Linked DNA regions of Homo sapiens: all the other regions are linked to region 1. The links are contacts of gene promoters, found by promoter capture Hi-C in blood cells and fetal thymus (Javierre and others, 2016). All regions are on one chromosome and are shown on one strand. The core of a region is centred on a gene start or on the middle of the fragment in contact, and the rest is flanking DNA. Distances in the headings are between cores, read along the strand shown.

Region 1 (3,965 bases), core at 878-3,377:
TGTCATGTTCATGATCTCCCACACTTCAGAGCAGCATCATGATTCTGTCAGAAACAATAAAGTAATAAATGATGTTCAGGAAATTGGTTGACAATGTGAAGAAAAATAAAAGTAGATCCCTACCTCACAACGTATCTAAAAAATTATACCTAGGCTGGGCGTGGTGGCTCACACCTGTAATCCCAGCATTTTGGGAGGTTGACGTGGGTGGATCACTTGAGGTCAGGAGTTTGAGACCAGCCTGGCCAACATGGTGAAACCCTGTCTCTACTCAAAATACAAAAATTAGCTGGGTGTGGTGGCACATGCCTGTAATCCCAGCTACTGAGGAGGCTGAGGCAGGAGAATCACTTGAACCCGGGAGGCAAAGGTTGCAGTGAGCCAAGATCACCCCTCTGTACTCCAGCCTGGGTGACAAAGTGAGATTCTGTCTCAAAAAATGAAATAAAATAAAATAAAATAAAATAAAATAAAATAAAAGACAAATAATTATACCTAAAAGGCTGGGTACAGTGGCTCACGCCTGTAATCTCAACACTTTGGGAGGCGGAGGCTCAGGAGGATTGCTTGAACCCAGGAGTTCAAGACCAGCAACATAGTGGGACCCCATCTCCACAAAATATTTTTAAAAATTAGCCAGGTGTGGTGGCACATGCCTATAGTCCCAGGTACTCACAAGGTTGAGGTGGGAGAATTGCTTGAGCCTGGGAGATGAGACTACAGTGAGCAGTTATCACGCCACTGCACTCCAGCCTGGGCGACAGAGCCGGACCCTGTATCACTCAGGCTGGGCACAGTGGTTCACACCTGTAATCCCAGCACTTTGGGAGGCCGAGGCGGGTGGATCACTTAAGGTCAGGAGTTCGAGACCATGGCCATGACCCCATCTCTGCTAAAAATATGAAATTTCCCCAGGCGTGGTGGCGCGTACGTAGTCCCAGCTATTTGGGAGGCTGAGACATGAGAATCGTTTGAACCCAGTAGGCGGAGGCTGCAGTGAGCCCAGATTGAACCAGTGCATTCCAGCCTTGGTAACACAGCGAGACACCGTTTCAAAGAAAAAAAAAAAGCACTCAGATTAAAAAACAAAATGAAACACAATACAATACTATATAGTCATGGCTACATATAATTATTAAAAATGGACTGGGAGAACACAAGCTAATTCTAATTCATAATAGTTGCTTCTGGAGAGGATGAGAGGGTAATAGGCTTGAGAGTAGAAAAAACAGGTAAGTTTAACTTTTATTGTATTATCTAGCTTTTAAAAAATAAGCAAATAAATCATAATGCCAGTAGTCAATTTAGGGTGATGGGTGTACAGTATTTACAATATTCTCCGTATTAAGTGTCACAAAATAAAAATGATTATTTTTAAGTAAATGGGATGCCTGTGGATGATGTAGATAATTCCCTGTAATTTTCTGTTGGTCCCAATGTAAAGCTGACTTTTCTAGACGTTCTGTGGGCTCACAGGCCATCCTAGTTCCATTCACCAGACAGATCCAGGCGGACGCCCAGAGGCGTGTGAGCTGGGGCTACAGGCTTGCAAGGTATCGAGTTCACCGGCTGCTGAAAAATCAGTTATGAAGGTATACGTAGGGGTGGGACAGTGAATGGTGTATAAAAAGGAGGGTAAGGCAGAAGCTGGGGCCGCAGGATGTGGGTTAGAAAAGTGTGCCGAGGTGTGTGAACTGGCATGACAGCCTAAGTAAGACGCGGAATGTGGGTGCCCTGGAGGTCCCGCAAGGCTCTTCAGCTCTCAGTTTCGGGAGCTCAAGCCGCACCGCTGCTTTCACAGCTCATCGGGAACAGGCTGCTCAGTTCATTTCCTTGATGGCCACCCTCCTCCCTCTCGGCCACTCCCCTCCCCATCAACAAATCCCAACGCCCCTCACCCGGGACCGTGGACCTCGAGGAGCCACCGTTGCCTCGGATCTCGGACCACCAAACCTATTCTCCCGCCAATTCGGCCTTCTGACCTTCGCCTTCTGACCCCGAGAGCTACTCTTCCGTCTTCCGTAGCACAGGAATGCGTTCTGGGGCTTCAAGAAGCTGCTGTTTTTGAAAATGAGTCCTACCGAGGCAAGATGGCAGGTGCTGCAGCCAGGAAAATACATTTCCGTGTGTTTTAATATTTATTTTCACTCACTACAACTCTTTCGTGGAGGGAGCGGAATTTAAACTTCCGGGTCAGCCTCAGTGCAGCTTGGGAAACGTAGTTCCTAGTCCCCACGTCTCGCTCCTTGGAGCCCAGACTGAGGGAGCGTCGCGAAAGTTGCCCGTTTTGGAACGCTCCCATTTGGCTCTCCAAAGGGAAGAATTGGTTAAATAGTTGCACTGAAAATAATGCGATTCAAATTTCTCATTTTCCAAGAACGCTCCCTTGCTGAAGCTTGCAAGGGCACGGTACTCCCCTCTCCTTGACCCTGAAACGTGCAGCAAGTAGATAACCTCCTGATCCCTGACAGTCTCCGCCTGTGTTGATGCCCCGCCCCCTCTGCTGGAGTCCGAGCCGCCGATTGGCTAGGAGCACTTGAGCAGCGGAAGCAGCTGGCTCGCGCGGGGACTGCGGTGAGGGGGCGAGCCGTGAAGATGGCGGCAGTGGTGGAGGTGGAGGTTGGAGGTGGTGCTGCTGGGGAACGGGAGCTGGATGAGGTAAGCGGAGTTGAGAGACGAGGAGAGACTCAACCTGAGACTGAGGGGAGGGGCAGTGAGGTATCGGGAGGTGGGGGTCTTAGGAGAGAAGGGAAAGATCCTGAGAGGGAAGGAGCTGACTAGGGGGCGGGTGCGTGGAGAGCGAAGTCAGAGGCACTCCTGACTTGGGGACTCCGAGGCGGCCTTGGGAGTAGAAGACTTGCATTAGCCTCAAGGGTGAAGATGGAGGACAGAGAGAGAGGTCGGAGGGGTGGGGGTGTTAAGATTTTGTGATTACTAGCTGGGTGTCTTAGGGTAGGACCGAAGGGCTAAGAGGTAGTTTGAGTTGGAGGGACGTGAATTTCTTCAGGGGAAGGCTGGGCTTCTACTGTGGGAGAGGACTCTGTCTAAGCCTAGGGTGGGGGTTGGGGACACAGACCGGGAAAGAGTGCTAATCCACTAGTAGTATAGCTTTGAGTTATCTTAAAGTTGGAACTGTTTTATTTATCGTTCCATTCTAAGACTTTGTATCTAATGCATGCTCAGTAAAGTTTTGGCCAACGAATGAAGGAACAAGTGGATGAATAAATGATTGTATGCCGGAATTCATGCATTTATTCACTTAATAAACATTATGACTTTTGCTCCGGGTTCTGGGCCAGGTGCTAGGGAGACAAGGGGCCCCTCCGTTGAAGAGCCCACAGTCTAGTGGTGGGAGACAGACAAGAAGACTAGTCATTGCATTAGAGATATAATGGTGGCACTGAGAAGTGTGCAACATTTCAGCTTGGGATAGGGAAGGCTTCCCGGAGTTGCTGAGTTTTAAACGATAAATAAGTGTCTCTCTCTTCTTCTGGATTTATGAGTTCCTTGAAGGTGAGCTCCTTGAGATTGTATGTTCCCTTTACCTATCTAATAGGCATTTAAAGACTGGTGTATTAAAATACCAGTGGTCCTTGAAGGAATCACTAGGAGGAAGGAGATGTTGAGTGTGAAAGGAATGAAGGGACAGGGCAGAGAAGCAGAGACAGAGGTGAAAAGATTCTGAAGCCATGGAGACATTGATAGCTAGTGGTGTTTGTGATCTTGCACATGCCAGCATATGGGCAAAGACATCACAGGAATAGGAGGAAGGGGATTGGTTGTCAGAGATAGAACCAGTGAGATCTCTGAGGGGTCAGAATCTTAGAGGCCCCTTGCTGTGTGTTGGGTGTGGGAAGAGTGGGGAGGATTGGGGATGATTGAAGATGAGGTTCAGAGAAAGGGAGAAGTGGACTTGGGAAGCAATAAGACTGTTGCCTGGTAGTGGGATGAGTTGGAGGAGTTGG
Region 2 (3,965 bases), core at 1,466-3,965, 110 kb after region 1:
TTGCCCAGAAGGTGCTCACTGTCTAGTACGGGAAAGAGATACGAAAATCTGAAAATTCACTCCCCATTATCTCTTGGTCCTTCCTATCCAAGTATACTCTATTTATCAGCCAACCGAAAGGTATTTTCTTAGTTCCTAAATATGATCATCCTCGCTGGGAGCAGTGGCTCACGCCTGTAATCCCAGCACTTTGAGAGACCAAGGCGGGTGGATCGCAAGGTCAGGAGATCGAGACCATCCTGGCTAACATGGTGAAACCCCGTCTCTACTAAAAATACAAAAAAATTAGCTGGGCATGGTGGCGGGCGCCTGTAGTCCCAGCTACTCGGGAGGCTGAGGCAGGAGAATGGCGTGAACCCGGGAGGCGGAGCTTGCAGTGAGCCGAGATCGCACCACTGCACTCCAGTTTGGGTGACAGAGCGAGACTCCGTCTCAAAAAAAAATAATAAAAAAAAAGATCATCCTGTGCTAGAAGCCACATGGAAAATGGGAGACAATGACATGGTCCTTGCCTTTGAGGGGCTTATAGCAGGGTAGGGAGTAAAATTAAACATATGTGAAGCACTAACAGAAGAAAATAATTAAATGCTAAATATAACTAAATGCTAATTACAATTAAGTGCTTCCTGACCCTGCAACATCCAACATGATTCCACATGTCATACCAGCATCAGTCTTGGAATTGAGCCAATTCACCTGGGCTTTGGCAAGGGCAAATGAAATGGTTAAGAGAGCTCTCAGGAGGGCAGAAAAGCTAAGGGGCTTATGTTCCTCAGTCTTGGATAATTATCATCAAGTATACCCTATCCATGGGCAAGATTATGTAGCCCTTGAGGCCAGGCATGGATGGATGCAGATAGCCCCAACTACTGCACTGCAATAAGGCTTTTCTGTGGCTGACAAGACTAAAGCTCGAGGGACCACACTTGGCTCTGTGGTGGGGCGGCAACAGCCAGACACTCAACTGGGGTTTCTTTAAAAAAAAGGCCTCTGAGCTATTAAATCACAAGGAATGAGGCTGAGATCACCGCTCCCCCATCCTCACTGCTGCCTATAGACTTGCAGTCCTTTTGATGAGGCCCAACACTTCGAAATTTTATCTGCAACTGTAGGCAGATCTTGCCCCCTTTGAAAGACTCACAGCTGTGCTACTAAAAATGTCCTGAGGTTTAACCAACCTCTTCATCTCAGAGGCAAAACATACAACCCTGAGGTCCTCCCAGGAGAGCCTGTCTAAAACTAGTTCCACTGTTCAAGAAAATGAGTGTCAAGGCTAAATATTCTTTTCTGTGTTCCCCAGGCACAGAAATACGAGGAACCCAATATTCACCACTAGGAACTCCTGAAGGACCTTGTCTGCTCTTCAGTTCTAAGCCTGTAAAGAGGTACTTTCCTAGAGACAGAACATCAGGGTGAGAGAGGCTTCAGGAGAGCCCCAGCCATTCCCTCTTCTCTGGGTAAGGAATGACTGAAGCCAGGAGCACAGCTAAGTCTTCTACATTGGGACTATAGCTTTAAGCAGACTTTGGCTGGGAACCCAAGGGCTCCCAGCCAGAGTACCATCCTCCCCACCCTCCCCCTGAAATCTGAGGCAGGCCCCACCCAGTACACTGGGTGATGCTGATGGAAAAACAGATCCTTGCGATTGTAGCCTGGAACCATTTCACAGAAGGATCTGCTGAGATCCACCCCAGCTGGATCAGGCACCCCCCGTCCCCCCCACAACCCTCACTCAATAAACAAAGAAACAAAAGGCCAGGCCCTCTGAGGGCACCTTTGGAGTTCCCATCTACCTGATTCTCTGAGAAAGAAATTCCCCCAGAATCTAAAACAGAGGCCTCACCGAGCTGGTAAGGCACCCTCTCTTTTCCCTGGTCTCAAGAAGTAACCAAGGACACAGAAGCAGTTGCGTTATAAACTTAAGGCCCTGCATCCTTTTTACATTTCCCAAACTGACACAATGCAGCTCCCCCACATCAGGACAAATTCCCACATTTACAGTAACCCCTGTTTCCAGAAAATAAATATCAAGATAAGGAAAGTGACACTAAAGAGACACGCAGCCACTCTGCCTGTACCCTCTCTGGACCTTAAAGAGTTAAAGCCTAGCCATGATTTCCTACCAGGGCTGAGGCTAATGTAAACCACCTGCTCAGACACAAGAAGCAGGACCAGAGGGTCAAGTTGCTGAGCTCTGAAGTCTGTTCTGAAAAAGCTTCAGTTTTAAGTACAGAACAAGTGATAGGCCAAAGGCCAGAGGGTCTGAGCTGCAGCAGCACTGCTCTCCTTACCCCGCCCTTGGCCTGGGTGCCAGCTCCTTTGAGACTGCCTCTTAGCCACTTACTGCCCATCAAGGGAACACCAGACCTACCTCAAGATAACACCAAAGTGACCTTTGGTCCCAGAGAGTTGTTAAACTATACCGATCTCTCAGCTCATGGGCCCTTGCTTCTGCTGAACCCTCATTCTCTTAGTGCTAACTCCCACTCCCAGAATTTCAGGGCCCAAAGCCCACACAAGCTCCCACCTCAAAGGGTCCTTCCCAGAACCCCACCCCCTTCTCCACCTGATAGTTCCAAAGGCCTACAGCCTCACAGCTCACAAAGGAAATGGCTGCCCCATCTGTGCGCCAGTGCTCACTTGCAAAATTTACCACCACTTACCCTGAGACGCTGCCTGCCTGTAGCCTAAGAATTCCATGCTCTGTACCCCTTTCTTAGAAAGATACTCCCCATCTGAGAGACACTCACATCCAAAGAGTGAAAACCCTGATCTTGGGGCTCCTCCTCCTCCAACTCTAGGACGGATAGGCCAGGAGGCACATGCAAGCAAACACCGAGATCTCACCTGGCAGGTTACCCAGAGGGGCCAAGCCACCTTGCCCTAGGCTAATAAGCTATAAAAACAGCATAGGAAATACTTTGCTGGTACATCCCCTGCCTCTGAGAAGATAAAAGGCAAGAGGACCAGTGGCTCCAAGAGACGCCATACAGAGAAAAACAATCTTTCTCAATTCCTGGGGAGTCCTGGGTAGACCGTCTGGTCCAAGTCCAAAGAGTTTCCTGAGGTCGGGGCAAACCAGTTTGGTCCATCTAAAGGGACTAGCTTGGGCTGAAGCCTCCTCTTCACACAGACCACTCCATCTTTGTAGCCTAGAGTTTGGCACAGAACCCCAAAGCCCTGGAGAGGAACAAGGGAGGGATTACAGAGGAAACCAAGCTTCTCTGGTTTCTTCAAAAGTGGCTTACAGATGTCTGCCCCTTCTCCCCGTTCTCTGGAGGGTCCAGATCAGGATGATGGCAAAAGAGCTGCAATCAGGAACCAGACCTGCAACCAGGCCTGCAGCCATGTATTGTACTGGGGCGCGTACACATACACACACACACACACACACACACACACACACACACACACACACACACACACACACACACACACACTGACCTGGGCCCCCCACCACTATATTCACACACCCTGGTCCCTATCAGCTGACAAAATGAACCTTTTTTCACTGCCCACCACCGTGCACACACCCACGGCCTCACGCAGAAATGGTGAAGCCCTCTCCTGAGCTGTCTCTACAGCTCAACGTGCAGGCAAACACGCTTTCCTTCTCTGAACAAAAACATGCTGACATCTACGCAAGGGGGAAAGAAAGCAACCCTTTGCTCTGAAAGGCGCCAACTCCCGGATGTTGGCAAGCTCTGCTCCACAGCGCCTGTTTCTGAGTATGTTTACTTGCTCTCCCTCTTCTCTCCCTCCCCTTTAAGGATGGCGCAGGAAAGGGAGGTGAGGGGGGAGAATCCACCCCACCCCCTCGTCCATGTTTGAACAAAAACCCAGAGAAAGAGTGAGGGAGAAAAAGTCTCGGTGCGGGGGGGCCTTACCAGACTCCTAAAGCCAAACGTATCTACAGGTTTTAATCCGCCATTAGCATTTAAATCTTGAAAGGAGAGGAGGAAGGG
Region 3 (3,965 bases), core at 999-3,498, 64 kb after region 1:
AAAATCCTTCAAGATGTGCATATGCATGGACATTCCTTCCTTAAAGTTTGGAAAGCAACACAGCCATAAAAAAAGATAAAACCATGTGCGTTGCAGCAACATGCCAGCTGGAGGCCTTTATCATAAGCCAGTTAATGCAGGAACAGAAAACCAAATACTGCATGTTCTTACTTATAAGTGGGAACTAAACATTGGATATTCATGGACATAAAGATGGCAACAGTAGGCACTGGGGACTACAAGAGGAGGAGGGAGTGGGGACAACGGTTGAAAAACTATCTGTTAGGTAACTGTGCTCATTACATGGGCAACAGGATCATTCGCACCCCAGACCTCAGTATCACGCAGTATGCCCATGTAACAAACCTGCACATGTACCCTCTGAATCTAAAATAAAAGTTGAAATTATTAAAAAAAAAATTAGCCAGATCTCAGATGTACCCTATAATTTTTCTCTTTAGGGCCATTATAGGAAAGAGCCACTTTATCCAGCAGGAAGTTAACATTCATTCAGTAGATACTTTTTAATGCCTGCTATGTGTCTAGACACATAGCTATATGCCAGAATTACAAAAGTGTACAAAAATAAACATGGTTTTTGCCCAGATAAACTTTACTCTTAGGTGGGAGAGATGGCTATTACAGTAACAAACACAGATAAAAATAAAATTACAACTTTAATAAGCATTATGTAGGAAAGGTTCATGATGCTGTAAACACATGTAGTAGTGTCATTTGACCTAGTCTTGGGGCTCAAAGATGGCTTCCTTGAAGAAGTGACTATGGAGCTGACTTGAACAATGAATAGCAGTTAAGTGGATGAAGTGAGAACCAGGCAGAGGAAAGAGCATTCATAAGAGTCCTGTCACGGGAGAAAGTGTGGGTGTTTTTGAGGAACTAAGACCATTGCGGTTGTATGGCCAAGAAGTGCCTGGAGAAGTAGTGACTAGACTAGAAAAAAGCCTGTGGGCCAAATTAAAGATTTTGATTTTTATGCTAAAAATCCTGGGAGGGGCCGGGCACAGTGGCTCACTTTGGGAGGCTGAGGCAGGCAGATTGCTTGAGCCCAGGAGTTCAAGACCAGCCTGAGCACCATAGTGAGACCCCATCTCTACAAAAAAATGAGACAAAAAAAAAAAAAACCTAGCCGGGCGTGGTGGCACATGCCTGTAGTCCCAGCTACTTTGGAGACCAAGGTGGGAAGTCACTTGAGCCTTGCAGTGAGCTTGTTCATGCCACCAAACTCCAGCCTGGGCAACAGAGCAAGACGTTGTCTCTAAATAAGTAAAAATTCACAAAATGTATAATAATCATGCAAAGGCACAACAATAAATGATGGGGCACAAAAGTGCTTAGTCCATATTGGTAATTGTTTTTGAACTGCACAGTGGTAGGAGTTGCTCCTTACAATTTTTACTTTGTGAACTCTTATTCCTTGATTTAACCCACAGCCGCTACAACAACAGCCACTGTCACTTACTGCTTTACCAAAAATTGGGGAAGCTTTCATACTTGCTTTGTTAATCTTTAACTGTATGTGTAAAGCTACACATTTCATTTCAACATTTAATATTAAAAGTGTTTTGAGTCTTTACTTAAGAGACAATTTGGTGTCTCTTAAATAGAGGTTTAGTGATGTCTTTGTGACAGAAATATGACACAGGAACTGAACTCTTGTTTCTATCAATTAGCCTGTGGTAAAATTGGTTTTGTTATATGTCGTTTCATTTAAAGTCACAGTTTCCAAGAAACTGTCAGTGAAGTGAGGACATACTGTATTTGAGAAGTATTTTGGACTTAGATATAGTTTGGTTCTGAAGACTGAAGGGAAAAATACAAAGGAAATATAGGTTTCAAAGCTGAGATTTCTGATTCGGCAACTGCTTGGATGGTAGTACCTTTCACTGAGATAGGAAATGCTGCAAGAGCAGCAGGTGGACATCACGGAGAGATGCTTAAATATGGGTAAATTAACAGCCAATCTGAGAAACGCAAGTAAATATTTCTATTTTTTTTTTCAGAATGGAAATATATCTTTATTGTTTTGCTGTTTATAAAAGTAGTATGTTCTCTTTGTAATTATTTAAACAACACAGAAGTGCTCCCTGTCTCAGTGTCATCCCCCAAGACCCCACCCCAAGAAGGAATATTTCCATCACCTTGGGTAACTTTAATCTAGTACCGTTTAAGGCCAGGGACTTTGTCCCTCAGTATCATGGGAATATTCTAATTTTTTCTCTACTGGATCAAATTGAAAACAGTACATTGGATCACTTTATTGACAGTTTATTAGGTTCCTTTTTGAACAACTGTCTTGTGCTTTACCTTCATTTCCCTCTTACCTATTTGTGTAGACATTGGATCTTCCTTTAACCAGTTTACTCCCCAGAAGAGATTTCTAGACCATGTCACCATTTTGACCATTTTGAAGTATACAATTCATGCATTAATTACATTTGCAGTGTTCTGCAACATTTTCACTGTCTAATTCCAAAATTTTTCTTCATCCCAAACAGAAACTCTGCCCATTAAGCAGTAACTCATTACCCCTTCCCACAGCCCTGGTTTACCTCTAATATACTTTCCATCTCTGTGAACATGCCTATTGTAGATATTTCATGTAAATGGAATCATACAATATTTGTCCCTTTGGCTTTTTTCACTTAGCGTAGTGTTTTCAGAGTTCATCCATGTATAGAATGTATCATTCCTTTATATGGCTGAATAGTATTCCATTGTGTGTGACACCGCATTTGGTTTATTCATTCATCTGTGGATAGGCACTTGAGTTGTTTCCACTTTTTGGCTACTGTGAGTAACGCTGTGAGCACTGGCGTTTAAGTGTGTTTAGTCCCTAGTTTCATATCTTTTGGGTTTATACCGAGAATGGAATTGCTTGGTCATTTGGTAATTTTATGTTTAACTTTTTGAGGACATGCCAAACTCTTTGCTTTCTTAATTATGATAATGCTTAAGTGAATATCTGTATTCATGAAGCTTCTTTGACACTTCCTCTTTTTTTTTTTTTTTTTGAGATGGAGTCTCGGTCTGTTGCCCAGGCTGGAGTGCAGTGGTGCGATCTCGGCTCACTGCAAGCTCTGCCTCCCGGGTTCACGCCATTCTCCTGCCTCAGCCTCCTGAGTAGCTGGGACTACAGGCGCCCCCCACCATGCCTGGCTAATTTTTTGTATTTTTAGTAGAGACGGGGTTTCACTGTGTTAGTTAGGATGCTCTCGATCTCCTGACCTCGTGATCCGCCCTCCTTGGCCTCCCAAAGTGCTGGGGTTACAGGCGTCAGCCACCGCGCCCAGCCTCCTCTTATTTCTTTAAATTCCTTGAAGTGAAATTAATGGGTCAAAAGGTGCAACAATTTGAGATACCATGCTAAATCCTATCTGAAAGGCTTGAACCCCTTTTGCTGCTGCCACAAATGTCTGAGAATGCCCTTGTCACCAAACCAACATGGCACTTAATATTTCACTGTTTTAAATGTTGGAGAATATTGTTGTCCATTTCTGGTGGAACCATAGTCTGGCGACAGAATGGCTTGCCTGACACAGCTTTTGATCACCAGCCCCAAGTCCTTCTCCCTCCCCTTCCCCTTATCCTTTGGTGCTGATCCAGCCCAGTTTATAGGTTCTGTTACATCTAACTTCCCAACTGTCTCTAGTCTGGTCACTTCTCCCCATCTGCCCAGCAAAGATGAGGTCGATTTGACTTGTAAAAGATTACCTTTTCTAAACAGTTTAAAAAAAAAAAGATGTCCTCTAACTCTGGGCCTCCCGCTGCCACTGTGCCTCTTCTCTAGAAGGCCTGAGGTCTCTGTGGAGCTTCCTACTTTGGCTGCTTCTCACATCTTTTCCTATCTTTCCTTCCTGCTATTCTCCTTCAGTTCTACAGCGAGTCGGGCATGCCTACCAAACATCTTTCAGACAGTGTGTGTGCTGTGTGTGGGCAGCAGATCT

What was found. The method cuts DNA at HindIII sites, captures the fragments that hold promoters and counts their contacts. A CHiCAGO score of 5 or more calls a contact.
Region 2: a contact is called between a fragment that was not itself captured here and the fragment with the promoter of XNDC1N in region 1, in 2 of 17 cell types (fetal thymus and non-activated CD4 T cells). The highest score is 6.2, in fetal thymus.
Region 3: a contact is called between a fragment that was not itself captured here and the fragment with the promoter of XNDC1N in region 1, in 1 of 17 cell types (total B cells). The highest score is 5.8, in total B cells.

Annotation. Positions count from the first base shown.
Region 1 is chr11:71,926,467-71,930,431 of GRCh38, forward strand. It overlaps XNDC1N (XRCC1 N-terminal domain containing 1, N-terminal like), which reads right to left and starts at 2,128. Exons shown (of 6, transcript NM_001375847.2): 1 at 1,899-2,128. RNF121 (ring finger protein 121) reads left to right here and starts at 2,580. Exons shown (of 9, transcript NM_018320.5): 1 at 2,580-2,658. The coding sequence starts at 2,596. It overlaps XNDC1N-ZNF705EP-ALG1L9P (XNDC1N-ZNF705EP-ALG1L9P readthrough), which reads right to left and starts at 2,128. Exons shown (of 11, transcript NR_172895.1): 1 at 1,899-2,128. RefSeq lists an enhancer at 1,961-2,270. The HindIII fragment of the contact is 13,024 bases long and covers 1-2,393 here.
Region 2 is chr11:72,037,072-72,041,036 of GRCh38, forward strand. All of the region lies in intron 2 of NUMA1 (nuclear mitotic apparatus protein 1), which reads right to left. Among named protein-coding and RNA genes, the nearest start is that of NUMA1-AS1, 25 kb to the left of the region's middle. RefSeq lists enhancers at 3,162-3,241, 3,722-3,965. The HindIII fragment of the contact is 1,004 bases long and covers 2,214-3,217 here.
Region 3 is chr11:71,990,827-71,994,791 of GRCh38, forward strand. It overlaps RNF121 (ring finger protein 121), which reads left to right. Exons shown (of 9, transcript NM_018320.5): 7 at 3,893-3,965. Among named protein-coding and RNA genes, the nearest start is that of IL18BP, 6.1 kb to the right of the region's middle. RefSeq lists enhancers at 681-730, 911-970. The HindIII fragment of the contact is 1,494 bases long and covers 1,502-2,995 here.